Linked DNA regions of Homo sapiens: regions 2 and 3 are each linked to region 1. The links are contacts of gene promoters, found by promoter capture Hi-C in blood cells and fetal thymus (Javierre and others, 2016). All regions are on one chromosome and are shown on one strand. Each heading gives the region's core, a stretch centred on a gene start or on the middle of the fragment in contact. The rest is flanking DNA. Distances are from core to core; before and after follow the strand shown.

Region 1 (4,785 bases), core at 1,249-3,748:
CCAGGTCTCCGGCTGCCGCTACACCGCGAAGGGATAGTCCCGGGCCTGGATGGGCGGAGGTCCGTGTTGGGAAAGGCGAATAGTCTTCAGACTCTGGTCGGTGGGACAGAACCTTGAAGTCCCCCCCACCTCATTCTCTCTCTGACCCCCATCCACCCACCTCCAGCCCAAAGCGAAACCAGAACCCAATTCCAGGGGCTGTACTTTCCTACAGAAATGGAGTTGGGAAGGGGGCTTGGAGAGAGATATCTGATCTGTTCAGGTCCTTTCTCGTCTCCCTACTGATTAAGAGAAAGAAGAAAGAGAGAGGAAGAGAGAGACAGAAAAAGAAAAGGAAATAAAGACCAACAAAGGGGGAAAGAAAGAAACAAAGGGGAAAAGTCCCCCACCTTCCCCTCCACCACCCCTACGAAATGATTTTCGATTTTTCGGGGTTTAGACAGAGTAAGGGAGAATTCTAATGATTTGTTACAGCAATAAACAAGGTAAAAGGAAAGGAGGTAAAAACAAACCCGACACTACTTTCAAGGATGTAGCAGGATTGAGCTTGCTTTTATTTTTTCCTAGTGGATTTTGTTTAATTTGTTTTGCCTAAATCGTCAGGCTTATGATCACACATCGAAGTCTTGGATTAACTGCGAAGGCCTCCTTCTATTTGCCGCGGCTTTGGTGGACATATAGGAATAATTCTTCCCTGGATTGCAATACAATGCGGAAGATTTTCTTTCTCCTCTTCTAATCCAAAAGAGGGGAGGGGAGGAAAGAAGAGGGGAATCCATCCATTCCCGGCGTGTTCGCGGGGGGTTAATGTTGCGTGTTCGCTGGGGGTTAATGTTTGCCTTATGACCAAGTCTCTGTGTCCGTGCCTCTCTCCATTTTCTCTTCCTACCTCAAACCCAGCAACTTAGAAAACGGCTGTAGCGGAAAAAAACCCGCTGCTTTGTTCTCCCGCCAAAGGAGCCAAAAGGGACAAACTGCTGCGCTCTGGGATGATTATTTTAATTAAAATAGATGTTAATGATGACGATTGTGATGGTGATGGCATTAGCAATTACAATAATTGACAAAACAAAATTCTTTCAACCCGAGCTAGGGCCCCACTAACCCGGTCCCTCCCAGAGCCCGGATTCGGCCTCGGTCTCGGATGCGACGGGTATCAGACCCAAGCGGCAACGTCGCTCACCCGAAGAGGGGGCGGGAAAATCTTCCCAGGAGGTGATCCCGAATGTCCCCACCCGAGGCTCGAGGCCTGGTGAATGTGCCCATTGTCCTTTCGGGGCCTCTCCCTTGGAGCCCGGCGGCCGCACCCACGAAACTGACCAGAAATGGATGAAGCCGGAGTGCAGCGGGAACCGAAGCCCGCAGCTACCGGCTCGAAGGCGCCGGCCTCGGCGAGCGCTGCTCAGCTTCAAGCCTGGAGGAGCCTCCCACTCACCAACGAACCCCTCAAACACCTAGGCACAGGCGGGCCTCCGGGCAGAGCAGCCGCCGACCGGGCGCTGTCCGCCCACCCAAGCCAACAACTGGCTCCCGAATACATCATAATTTGGAATAAAATGTGAAATCCCGCTCCCCGCCCCCATGCCGCCGCCCCCACCAGCGCCTCGATCTCTCGCTCGCCCTCCCCCCACTCCCGCCCCCAGCGATTTGCAAACGCACCTCTAAAGGACACAGGCACACAGGCATACAACTCAGTGCGGACAGGACCACACAGGGTCCAGCCCCACAGAAGGGCAGCAAACAAACACCACCTAGCACTGCCCCAGAAGCCGACTTGGTCAGCCCCGCACACTGCCCAACAGGACACAACGAAATCAGTCAAACGCAGCGGCTCACGGACACACAATCCAGCACAGTCGGGATCACACACGCCCGACATAACGACGACACCACCCAAACACAGTCGCAGGGGCCACACACCCCCACACACAGAATCAGATCCCTGCTGAGAACACCAACGGAGCACAATCGTACGCAACGAAGAAAACGCAGAAGGGCCTCGAAGGGTCCACATCTACACACCCCAACCGCGCAGGCACACCACACTCGGACACAGAGCCTGTCGCCAAGAAGACCACACTTAGAAGCAGCCAACGCCGCCCACAGTTCTCATGAACGCACTCTCACAATCCCACCGCATGCACACAACCACGAAGAAGAAATGAAAACCAACCACAGCCTCGCGCATTTCTGTATATTGCGTAAGGAAAAGGGGGAAGGAAGGAAGAGAGTCTCCGAGGCGGGAGGGGCGGCGGCAGCCGGGGCGGGGGCGTCCGTGGAAAATGCCCCCCCACCGCCCCCCCCGGCCATCGAAAGGAACCGAGGGAAAGGGAGCGAAGACCTCTTTTGCGGACGTGGGGAAAAAGAGGAGGAAATTGATGAAGAATTCGGTGGGAGGCCGCGGGTTGCTTTTCCCCTAGAAAAAGGCCAGAATGCTCACGTTTTTCCGCTACGGGGGTACGCGTGTGGCCATTTTGAGGCCCGGTCCTGAGCGGCGGCGGCCCGGCCCCTCCCGCGGCCCCCGCTCCCCCGCCCGCCCCGCGCCCGCCCGGCCCCTCCACCGACGCGCTGTAATCCCACTCACGTTCCAGGCCTCGTTAGCATGGGCCGAGGCGCGCCGGGGCCGTGTGCGCCGCAGAGATAAGGCACTGCCGCGGGTCCGCCCGCCCCCGATAAGCGCCTCGGCCATTATGGGCCAAATGATTCATTTTAATTTGGCAATTTCACCGGAGGGAGTGGGGACTGGTTGAGCGGCGCTAGGACCGGCTCCGGAACGCGCTGCGGGGAGCGTTGGACGCGCTGTCTAGGACCCAGCAGATCCAGCCCCCATCTCTAATCCCAAGGCCTCTCAGGAACCCCAGCTTCCCACAACCTCAGTCCCTTAACCTTTCAGACACCTTTCTTCAGCGACTCTCACCCCAGCACTCTGTCCCTACCTCTGAAGACCACCATGATACCAAAATCGTCACCTCCCAGGGCTTCTTTCTTATTCTTCCTCCAGTGTCCCAGACACCCAGATTTCAATGGGCAGTCTCCCTATCCCAGAAAGCTCCCCAGCCCTTCCCTACCTCTTCACCCCCTTCTAAAATAGAGCCGGTAACTCAAATCCATGGGCTCTACGGCGGCCTGGCAGAACCCCTGTCAATAGGGACATAAAATGCCTATTCTGCTAGGTTTCAGGCTGAGCCCAGAGCCCAGGAACACTGCTCCCCACATGGTATTTAAAAAAAAAAAAAAAGTTTAATCTAGCGACTGTAACACTATTCTAGGCATTCTGCAAATACTAATCTACTCTTCACAAACAGTCCTGAGAAGCTGGATCCTTAATTTACAGAAGAGAAAACTGAGGCACAGAAAGTCAAAGTAACTTTTCGAATGATACATAGCTAGTGCTTGGTGGAGTCTGCCTTGGAAGGAAATTTGACACGGAGTCTTCTCTGCGGCTCAGCTGATGAAGAGGGGCAGCCAAAACCTAGCCAGGGAAAGGGACCTGGGCTCAACTCATTGCAGAGACCAGGGTCTTTACTGTGGGGTAGAAATCTGAGTTCAGTGCCAGCTGGATGATGCGCTCAGCCCACGGAGGGTCTCTGGGTTCATTCTTTCATGGTGGAGTGGAAAGAACACATGTTCGAATTTTAGTCACTGATCTCTGAACCTCAGTTTTCTCATTTGTAAAATGGGGAGATAATGTCGACGTCACAAAGTTATGAGAACTAACTTATATGACCTTTAAAAGGTGGTGGTGAGGATAATAATGTATGGAACGTCACTCAGTCCACAGCCCAGGAAAACATCATATGCACTTGCATGGGAGTTCTGGTTATCATCATAGAGAAAGAAATTAAGACACAGAGAGATGTGACTTAGCCAAAACTTACAGTAACCCAAAGGAAAAGCCAGGACCCAAACTTTGGTGTCCAATTCCCAGTCCACAACTCTACTTTCCATGCCAGGCTGATTTGTCCTTCTAGTGTCTCTGCTTTTGAGCTTTTTTTGGAGCCTGAGAACTGGGGGAAAACCCCTACTCTGGTAACAAACTGAGTCCCAGTCAAAGACTGAGCAGAGAGCATGGCCCCAGTCTGGGATCTGGCTTCTCCTTGGTCATCAGGTTGACCCTCTGAGAAGATACAGTTAATTCAGTGCCGCCTGTCCCCTCTGTTCCTCCTGTGCTCTCTGAAGGAAGTCAGGCTGTCATGGGGATACAGATAACTCTCACAGAATCCCACATCCTAAGAAAAAGTCTAGTTCCCCCCTACCATAAGGCCTTTGCTTGGCTCCATCACTTATTAGAAAATGAGAGTCATATAATTCTGAGTCTGAAACACAACTCTGCCATTCCTGGGCTGTGGGACCCTTAGAGAAGTGATTTCATGTCTCTGAGCCACTGTAAAAACAGGCTAGCCATTCCCATATGGGAGAGCCCAGGTGGGGACTGCTTCTCTGAGAAAATGAGGCCTGGACTGAGATCTAAGAGTGAAATTTGGGGGTGCGAAGAAGGGGGGTGGGGAGAAGCATCAGTATCCAGAACCTTCCAGGTGGGCTGAGGAAACAGCTGGACCAAGGGCTAGAACAGAAGGGTGGTAGGTTCGTGAAAAGAATAGAAAAGTGTCCAGTATGGCTGGAGCATGCTTGTGGACAAGTTAAAAGATTTTTTGACATTTTTTTGTTTGTTTGGTTTGAAGGTGGGGGTGGTACCTTGTATAGAATAAGATTTGCATTTCTAGAAAGTTCTTTGGATGAAGTGTGGAGGGGGAAGGACTCTGGGAGGCCAGTTGTGGAGCCAAT
Region 2 (4,785 bases), core at 955-3,454, 63 kb after region 1:
TTATACAGAAAAAAGCAACATAAAGAAAAGAAAGGATGCTATGGTTTAATTTTTACAGGCCAGGAAAAGGTGATACTTGTCTATGTTGAGTATTGAAATATTGACTATTTCAGGAAGGAAGCACAAGATATCACTTTACAGTGATTGCCTCTGAGAATGGGGTCTAGGGAAATGGGGAGGAAGAGAGATCTACTTTTATTGTAGATATTTACATATGTCAATTTATTACTATGTGCTTGTACTGCCTTTTCAATATAGTTTAAGTCCTTTACAGCCACCCAAGGTAGATAAAAATAGACCTTCTCATTTAATAGATAAAGAAGGTGAGAGACAAATACTGACAAAGATGTCACCTTCTTTATCTATTAAATGAGTTGAGGTTAAAAGTAAAGTTTCCCTAACTATTAATTCCAATGTTTAGGCTTCAGTTTCAGGAAGAAATTAAAAATCTTGTCTCAAGTATTTCTTTGTGTATTAGTAGTAACACTGTGTAACTTAATAAAACATCTGTAAGGTAACAAATCCAAACTCATTTGCAGTCATTTCACTGAAAGTTAACCTCCTTAATTATTAAATAGGATGCTACAGTAGACAATCTCCACAGTTTTTTTCCACCCCCAAAAGGTTTGTGTTCTGTGGTTAGGCAAGTGAATTCCTTGGTATTTCCAGGTATACTGCAACCTCATCTTTTTTTAATCTGGTTTTATTCTCATTTAATATAAGGTTTGTTTTTTCTTAATGTACGTGTTTATTTATAAGTATTGTAAAAGGTTACGGCATTACATGAATTTTAAATGGGACCATAAACTATGAATGGGGGAAAGGATCGAAATAAAGTACTACAGAATAAAATATCACTTGCCTTTCTTGAACAGAAGAATTGAATATGTATCGCAAACAGCAAGCCCATACCTGAGGACTATAGATATGTGTAATTCCAGACAGCCAACTAAAAGAAAAAGATAGAAATTAAAAACCATAGTCACTTACATATATAGCATAATTTACATTCTTCCTAAGATAACAAAGTAGACGTATGGCTTTTATCAGCCATACATTAAAAAGCCTTAGTAATAAGAAATCTAAAAACGTGCTGATAATTAAAAGGAAGAATATATAGACATTTGTATATATATAACTATATTGATATATATAGACAGACATATAGATATATATCGAGAGAGAGAGAGAGAAAGAGAGCAAGCACGCGTATCTCTGTCCTCTTTTACCTGAGATGTGGGAAAGAAAATGGTTAACAGAGATGAAAGCAGTATACTAGAATGAATTAGCTTGGACTGGAAAGAATGGGCTAAGGTAGTACAGACTAATTTGCAGCCTAAAACTACTTCACAGAGTTGCTGAGGATTAAATGCTGTAATATATACAGGTAGTCAGAAAGAGAGAAGGCTCTTAATATTTACTTAAGCATCAACAATCCATTGCCTATATTAGGACTGTAGCAAACTATAAGTAGATTTCATGGTCCAGAGAACATTCATGCATTCTCATTCACTTTGCATGTGCCATTCCCTTACATGGGTTCCCTTCCCCAACAATCTTCCCTTCTACTATCTAAACAATTGAAAGTCTAGCTCAAGTTTGTCTTCTCTAGGAAAATGCTCCCTATCATATCTTTCTTACAAATACTAAGTGTTCACTTTCCATACTGGTCACTTTATAGTAAATCATATACTTTATTTTTCTGTGTATGAATATTTGAATGTTTTATCACCTCACTTTGATTTTAAATTCTTTAAGAAGCTTTAAACCTCAACACATTATCAAGCATAACACTGTATATAATAAGTACTCAATACTGAATGAATATAAATTTCTAAATATTCTGTCTAAATATCATTAACTCAGATGGCTTGAGCCCAGGAGTTCCAGACCAGCCTGGGCAACATGGCGAAAGCCCGCCTCTACAAAATATACAAAACCTAGCCAGGCGTGATGGCCGGTGCCTGTAGTCCTAGCTATTCAGGAGGCTGAGGTGGGAGGATCACCTGAACCCCAGAGATTGAGGCTGCAGTGAGCCATGATTGTGCCACTGCACTCCAGCCTGTGTGACAAAGTGAGACCCTGTCTCAAAACATGTATACATATATAAAAAAAAGTAAACACATAAATATCATTAATTACTACTCTAAAGAGAAGGCCATTAACACTAAAGGAGATTTCTGCAAGATTGACTGACAGTGGATTTTAAATGGTATTATTATGAGCCCTGAGTTCTTTAGGGTGACTTAAGGATGAGTGGTAGTGAGAGAATACTGAAGAAACAGGGCTCTAAGCCTTCACCTTCAACCAGGAGAATTCAACTTATATTTTTTATTTTTTTTTGAGAAGGAGTTTCACTCTTGTTGCCCAAGCTGGAGTGCAATGGCGCAATCTCAGCTCACTGCAACCTCCACCTCCTGGGCTCAAGTGATTCTCCTGCCTCAGCCTGCCAAGTAGCTGGGATTACAGGCACGCACCACCATGCCTGGCTAATTTTTTGTATTTTTAGTAGAAATGGGGTTTCACCATGTTATCCAGGCTGGCCTTGAACTCCTGACCTCGAACTCCTGACCTCAGGTGATCCGCCCACCTCAGCCTCCAAAAGTGCTGGGATTACAGGCGTGAGCCACTGCGCCTGGCCATAGAATTAAGCTTTTATCTGTTTTATATGTTAGAGTTCTTCCTAATATTGGACAAAATCTGGCTGAGCATGATGGTTCACACCTGTAATCCAAGCACTTTGGGAGGCTGAGGCGGGTAAATCACTTGAGGCCACGGGTTCGAGACGAGCCTGGCCAACATGGTAAAACCCCGTCTCTACTAAAAAAGCAAAAATTAGCCAGGCATGGTGATGCACGCCTGTAATCCCAGCTACTTAGGAGGCTGAAGCACGAGAATCACTTGAACCTGGGGGATGGAGATTGCAGTGAGCCGAGATCTCTCCACTGCACTCCAGTCTGGGCACAGAGCAAGACTCCATCTCAAAAAAAAGATTGGGTAAAATCTTATTTTAGCTGATTCTACTAGTAAAATAAGAAAACCTGACAACCACTTATCTTTGTGGCTTTATAAAATGATCTAAATATTTATAGTACAACTGAGTCACATGCTTATCATATACATTTGAACATTTGGCTGATAAGGTTTTCATAAATAATGTAATACTTACATTCCCACCAATGGTAGAGAATAAACCTTGGGATCAGATTCCAACAAAAGTAACAATTTGCGTGTTTCATCCATGGTAAGATATCTAAACAGAAGACATTCATGTGAAAATAACTGAAATTATGTACTTTTTACCTAAAAGACATAATCTAAATGCTGAAGCATACTTTAGAAAGGGGAGATAATTCAAATGAACGTTGTCTTGCACACACAAAAGAAACAGAAACTTTTTACTGACTCAGTAAAAAGACTCTGGTAAGAGGAAGAGATTAAAGAGATTTAATACCTTAAAACTTCCATCTATCAATTAAAAGACATTGAAGATTATACACCTTTTTTAAAAGTTTTGCTCTATAACTTTACTTACAATTTACTTTAATCAAGAGTGTTAACATTAAGGTAGGCAGTTTCAGAACCAAATAGGTTTCCTTGGAAGAACTGAATTCCCTATCACTAGAAAATGTTCATGCATCCAAGTGATTTGACAAGACTGCAACAGATGTGACTTCTAAGTGAAGGAGACTGAATTAGGAGAAGTATGATCAACCTTCCATGTGCCATATTCCTCCAACCACTGTCAAAGGACTTTGGAACCATCATAAAACACAAAAGCTCACTCTTTCCTAAAAGGACATTATACTATATTTATATTTTATTATATTTATTATTGACAGCAAGTTATAAGAATACAAAAAACCAAAGTAGAATTGTTAATTTTATTGTTATGTCTTTCTTCAAAAACAATGCCATTAGTGGGTCAGGCATGGTGGCTCACGCTTACTGTAATCCCAGCACTTTGGGAGGCCGAGGTGGGCAAATCACTTGAGGTGAGGAGTTCGAGACCAGCATGGCCAACATGGCAAAACCCCATCTCTACTGAATATACAAAAAAAAAAATTAGCCAGGCATTGTGGCACACGCCTGTAATCCCAGCTACTCGGGAGGCTGAGGCAGGAGAATGAATCACTTGAACCCAGGAAGCAGAGGTTGCAGTGAGCCGAGATTGCACCACTGCACTTCAGCCTGGGCAACAGAGTGAGACTCCGTCTCAAAAACAGAAAACAAAAACAATGCCATTAGTGATATAAAGCCTTGGCAGTACCACTGATGATATATTTTATTGCTCTAATAACACTAAAACACAAAGACAATACATTTGTCAGGTCTTGTGACAAGAATATTAAGCCTGAGTTGGCGTAAGATTTACAAATCAACAATGACACAGCTGCTTTAAAAGTTCTCCCTCATGTCTTGCCCATCTGATAAATTTCTACTCCTTAAAAGAATTAGTTCAGGCTGGCTGGGCCCAGTGGCTCATGCCTGTAATTCCAACACTTTGGAAGGCTGAGATGGGTGCATCATGAGGTCAGGAGTTCAAGACAAGCCTGGCCAAGATGGTGAAACCCCATCTCTACTAAAAATACAAAAATTAGCCAGGCATGGTGACGGGCGCCTGTAATCCCAGCTACTTGGGAGGCTGAGGCAGGAGAATCACTTGAACCCAGGAGGTGGAGGTTGCTGCAGTGAGCTGAGATCGTGCCACTGCACTCCAGCCTGGCAACAGAGCAAGACTCCATCTCAAAAAAAAAAAAAGAATTAGTTCAGGCTTTCCATGAT
Region 3 (4,785 bases), core at 1,260-3,759, 51 kb before region 1:
CATCCACGCCGCATCCTCATCCCACACATGCTCCTGCTTGTCCCTGGCATCTGCCATTCTCAGTGCCATTCACTAGCCTATATGATGCCTTCGAATCAGAGGAAGTTACCTCTCCCTCCAGGGATACGGGCCCACACCTGGTCTCAGGGACCCTTTAGTGGAGGCACAGTCTATATAGCCCAGAGCAGTGCCCCTGATGCCATCGTCTTCCAATTTGCTCAGAGCAGACACTGGGATTCATCCTTAATATCTCTCTCTTCTCTCTCTCTCTCTCTCTCTCTCTCTCGCGGAGGCCCCACTGCCCTTGCATTCCACAGGAAGTCCCAGTTGCTGGCATGACCTGAGAGGTTCCTGGGACCACGCCATGGAAATGCGTCCGGTCCCAGTGTGACGGGGAAGAGCCGCGCCTGAAGCTCAACTTCCGAGGCTCTCATCAATCTACGCTTCCTTTGGAGCGTGCAGCCACCAGGTGGCAGCCGAGGCCACGGGCAGACAGAAAAGCTCCCGAAACTGAAGGACTGCCAGGCAGCAGAGTTCCGGAGGGCTCCCAGGACCTTCAACCAGAAAGAGACAGAGCATATGCGCATATGTATGTCTGAGCCCGTGCACGGAGGAGGAGTATGAACAGACACCGCGGGACAGATGGCTGGAGTTTAGTCCCTTCCTTCGGGGCTCTTCACCACTCCTTGGGCTTCCCTTCTCCTGTCCAGCCCTGTCCTGGGTGCACAGAGAGGGAAGTCACTCCATTCCTGCCCTTGAGGAGCTCCCAGACCCAGGGCAGGAGCAGGATGCAGACAAGTAGACAGCACCCTGGGGTGGGTGGAGTGAGTGGGGCAGGTGGGGCGGGTGCAAAGAGAGGGAGGAGCAGGGGCTGAAGTTGCCCGGAGGAAGTGCTGAACCCAGGAGTGGGGAAAGGAGCATCTGGGAAGAAATGGCATCTACGCTGATCATGGAGGGCTTTCTGGCAAGTCTCAGGAGCAATAATAACACGGATGTCATCTCTGTTTCCTCCCAGCAGCCCTGCAAGGAATGTACTATAGAGCCAATTTTACCGGCAAAGGAATGGAAGATCTGAAAGGCTAGGCGATCCCACAAGCATCGAGGAGCAGGCTGGAATTTGAACCAATCGGCATGATTCCCAAGCTCAAGCTTTTGGCCACCCCTGCACTGCCAGGGACAAAAAAAAAAAAAAAAAAAAACCCTGGGAGGAGAGCCAAGCTAGGGAGTCAAGACCCTCCAGCCAGGTCTGGATGGGAGGCAGGTGCCTCCACCCTGGTCCCAGAGCAAGTTCTGCTGGCTTCAGCCACCTGACTTCCCTGTGAAGGTGGGTAGAGGCCAGAGCAGACTGTGTGTGATTCTGGCCCCAGCCCCAGCACCTCTACCCCCACCTTTACTACCCCTAGGCTGCGGGAAGAGGCTTTGCCCAGCAATAGTCCTGATCTAATGGATCCTTGAAGCACAATAAACAGATAGTATTTCTGCATGTGTCACTCTGAGTATGACGGCAGTAATCTTGAAACTCCCCTTGACCACCTGGCACTCTGGAGACGGAACTCCACAGCCTGTTTTCAAAGCCAACTCCTGGCTGGAAGTTCCTCTTCAAGTCTAAATGAAGTAAGCAGTGCTGCAGTCTTCCCTCAACTGTGCAGTTGCTGGGTGGAGGCTTTTCTTTTCTGCCTGAGTTTGGGTATAACCTATAATGTAACCCTATGAAACTTACATGTTTTAGGTGGGAGAGGGGAAAACAAGGTGCAAGCCCTGTTCCAGGAAGAGCAAAAATGTCCTCAACAGTAAGAGGACATTCTGGGCTGAGAGCCAGGGCTTGAGGCAGCCTGCAATCCTGGCAGATAGCTGGTGGAAGGGACCACAGAGAGATGATACCACACACAGAAGTGAGACCAATGAGATCGTGGGAACTGCCCGGCCAAGGGTTGACATCAAGGAAGCTTAGGAGGCAGGGGACAGCTGGGAAGGGGACAACCAAGAGAACCAGCTGGAAACTGAAAAGGGATGCAAGAGAGAAAGAGGAGGTGGGCACTGAGCTCAGGTGGAGGAGGAGAAAGGCAAACAGGAGAGAGAGAGGCAGAGGATGAGACAAAAACAGAGGTGGAGAGACTGAGAAACAGGGAGACAGAGATGGATGGAGGCTGGGAGAGACAAAGAGGAGACAGGCCTGGGCAGGAGAGGTCCTACGTGGGGAGAAAAGGTTGGGAAGAGAGCAGGAAAGAGAGAAGGAGCACAGGTGTCTGGAGGTTCCCACCAGGCCCAGCCCACCCCTCCTGCAGGCTGGGTCTCTCCCTTGTCTGCCAATCACGAAGCTCAGGATCCCCTCCCTCAGGGCTGGGGGTGGAGAGCTCGCCTCCAGCCCCGCCCTAGTCCAGAGGCTCCCCCTCCCCAGGCCCTGGGAGGCTGCCCCTGGGACTGGCTGTGCAGCGATAGATGGTGGGGGCCCAGCTGGTGCGTTATCAGCCTTCTCCAGGAGCGCGCCTGAGCCACTCCGTGGCTGCCAGTCTGAGATTAGGCCCCCGGAGGGTCATTAAGCGCCACCCTGGCCCGGGCCCAGCCTCCTTTCCCTCCCCGATCTGGCCAGGCTGGCAGGTGGGAATGAGCGATAAGGATTGGGGGTCTCAGCAGTTCTGGGGCCAGCAGCTCCCTGCTCCCAGCACTCCCCTCTGGATCAGGGCAGGAACATGGGGTGAGGGTGAAGGGCTGTAAGGTCAGTGCCGGCCCAGCCCCTGCAGGAGCCCCTAGGGTTCCCACTCTCCTAGATCTGCCCATATTGAGCAAGACAGAATGAGAAGGGGGCCAAGGAGGCTCTTGGAGAGGCCTCAGACAGCTGCTGGGGAGCAAGGTGAGCCCAGGCAGAAGCAGGCTTCTCCTGGCAAAACCTCACAGGTGTGAGGGGCTGGGATTCACTTGCTGCAGGGAGACAGGGATGGTGGCTCTGCCTTCTGGCCCTGGCAGGCTGGTGGAGTGACCTGACTCGAACCCACTCCCACCCCCCAGGGACAACTGAGGGCAGAGCTGGGAGGAAATGTGGCCTCGTGCAAGGAGAATCGGATCCGGCAGTCAGAAGCTTCCCACCAGGAGACAGGAAAGGAAGAGGGGACTGTTTGTGCCTTAGCAGAGGCCTGACCCTCTAGGAACCTCTGTCTCTCCTTCAGTGAGTGGAGAAGCTGGGCTGGCTGCTGGCCTGGCTTTGCCCTCTGGTCTAATCAAGGAAGACTTCCCAGAAGAGGAGGAACCTTGGTTGGGTCAAGAAAAAACAATGCGCAGAGTTTAAACTGGCAGAGGTGGGGTGAAAAGGCATGAGTCACAGGCAGCCACGTAAGCAAAAGCCTAGAGTAGAAATCACAAGCCACAGTTCATTAAGCCGAAGCCCAGAGAGGGGAGGTGACTTGTCTCAAGACACGCAGAAAAGCAAGGATAGGCCTGGAGCAAAGCCGCTGCTCCCCGACCCACAGGCCTCTTCCCTCTGCTGCAGGCTGCATCCTAAACCCAATGAGGTGAGAAGAGATGATTCCCATTTAAGATGAGTCTTCCCCAGTGGTACTTGGTGAAGCCTTGGAATAGCAAAACAATGGCCATAACATAAAGCAAGGGGGCTGTGACAGGTTGAGACAAGTGGCAGAGGGAGACCTTTGGGACAAGGTGGATGGCCTCCTACCTTCTGGCCCCACTTCTCTGGATCTGGGAATTATCCTGGATGAGTCTCTCAGGTTATCACCCTGGACAGAGACAGAAGCTGTTCGCATAAGGCCAACAGTCACAGAGGTGAGGGGCCTCCAGGTTCAGCCAGCCAGGCAAGGCATGCCTCCCCTCTCCCCTGCTCCTACTAGGACCCAGTTTCCTGATCCTCCCTTCCCAACCCTGACTCCCACCCCAGGACTGGGCATTGGGAGGGCAGGCATAGGCAAGGACTGGGCTCTCCTCCAGCTCTGCCGTGAGACTGGCCAAATCTTCCACGGAGAGAAAGCTCAGCTCAGAGAGGACAACAGCTTTCCCAAGTTCACACACAAGTTGCCAGAGGACCCAGGACTCAGATCTGGGCTTCCTGAGTCTCAACCCAAGACTGCTTCCTGACACTTCCTATGCCAAAGCCCAGCACGGAGGGGCTACTGGAGGGAGACAGAGCTAGATCTGTGTGAACCCACTGTGACACCTCCAGCACAGAGGCAGAGGGTGAGCGGCGCTGAGCAAGGAAAAGCCCAGAGTCTCAGGGATGAAGGATGTTTGGGGGCGGGGATTTCCAAGAGGGGCGCTACCTGGAGCAAGGGTAGAGTGGGTGAGCTCTCTGGCCCATGGGCCTCTGACATCCTCTTCCTTCCCTACATACAGGAAACTGATCAGCACTAGGGGAACCTAGCTCATATTAGGGTCTGCTCTGCCCTGCCCTGGGAAGCCTTGCCTGGCTGCTCTGGTTGAAGAAAGGGTTTGGCCTGAGGGGACAAAAACCAGCCCATTGGCAGAAATGGGCTCACCTGTCCTGGTCTCCCTGCCTCCCAGTTCTCCCAGGTGTCATCAGACACTCCCATTTGAGGGTGCTTCACTCTCAAACACCAGAAAGGCACCAACCCTCTCTTACCCTCACCCTGGCCACACACTCTCAGCCCCTCCCCAGCCTGGGCCCCCTCGGTCCCAGCTGCCCTGTGGGCACAGGGGCTTCCTGCATAATCCCCCAAAGCCACTACAACAGAGTCGGAAGGTGACTGTCATGATTCAGAAAGCAAGATGGGGACTCACTGGAAGCCTGAGGGGCTGTTGCTGAGCCTCAGCCCCAGAAAT

What was found. Contacts are between HindIII fragments. The CHiCAGO score rates a contact against its expected background, and 5 or more counts as called.
Region 2: a contact is called between a fragment that was not itself captured here and the fragment with the promoter of TAL1 in region 1, in 1 of 17 cell types (erythroblasts). The highest score is 5.8, in erythroblasts.
Region 3: a contact is called between a fragment that was not itself captured here and the fragment with the promoter of TAL1 in region 1, in 2 of 17 cell types (megakaryocytes and erythroblasts). The highest score is 15.3, in megakaryocytes.

What each region holds. Positions count from the first base shown.
Region 1 is chr1:47,229,727-47,234,511 of GRCh38, forward strand. TAL1 (TAL bHLH transcription factor 1, erythroid differentiation factor) reads right to left here and starts at 2,499. Exons shown (of 5, transcript NM_001290403.2): 1 at 2,441-2,499. RefSeq lists enhancers at 1-528, 721-1,694, 1,695-2,668. The HindIII fragment of the contact is 19,807 bases long and covers 1-4,785 here.
Region 2 is chr1:47,292,596-47,297,380 of GRCh38, forward strand. STIL (STIL centriolar assembly protein) reads right to left here. Exons shown (of 17, transcript NM_001048166.1): 7 at 3,170-3,253; 8 at 863-949. Among named protein-coding and RNA genes, the nearest start is that of STIL, 19 kb to the right of the region's middle. The HindIII fragment of the contact is 891 bases long and covers 1,760-2,650 here.
Region 3 is chr1:47,178,850-47,183,634 of GRCh38, forward strand. It overlaps LINC00853 (long intergenic non-protein coding RNA 853), which reads left to right and starts at 401. Exons shown (of 2, transcript NR_047498.1): 1 at 401-589; 2 at 1,019-1,490. It overlaps PDZK1IP1 (PDZK1 interacting protein 1), which reads right to left. Exons shown (of 4, transcript NM_005764.4): 4 at 4,733-4,785. CYP4A22-AS1 (CYP4A22 antisense RNA 1) reads right to left here and starts at 774. Exons shown (of 6, transcript NR_199717.1): 1 at 341-774. RefSeq lists enhancers at 272-773, 2,399-2,543 and a cis regulatory region at 2,462-2,479. The HindIII fragment of the contact is 1,130 bases long and covers 1,945-3,074 here.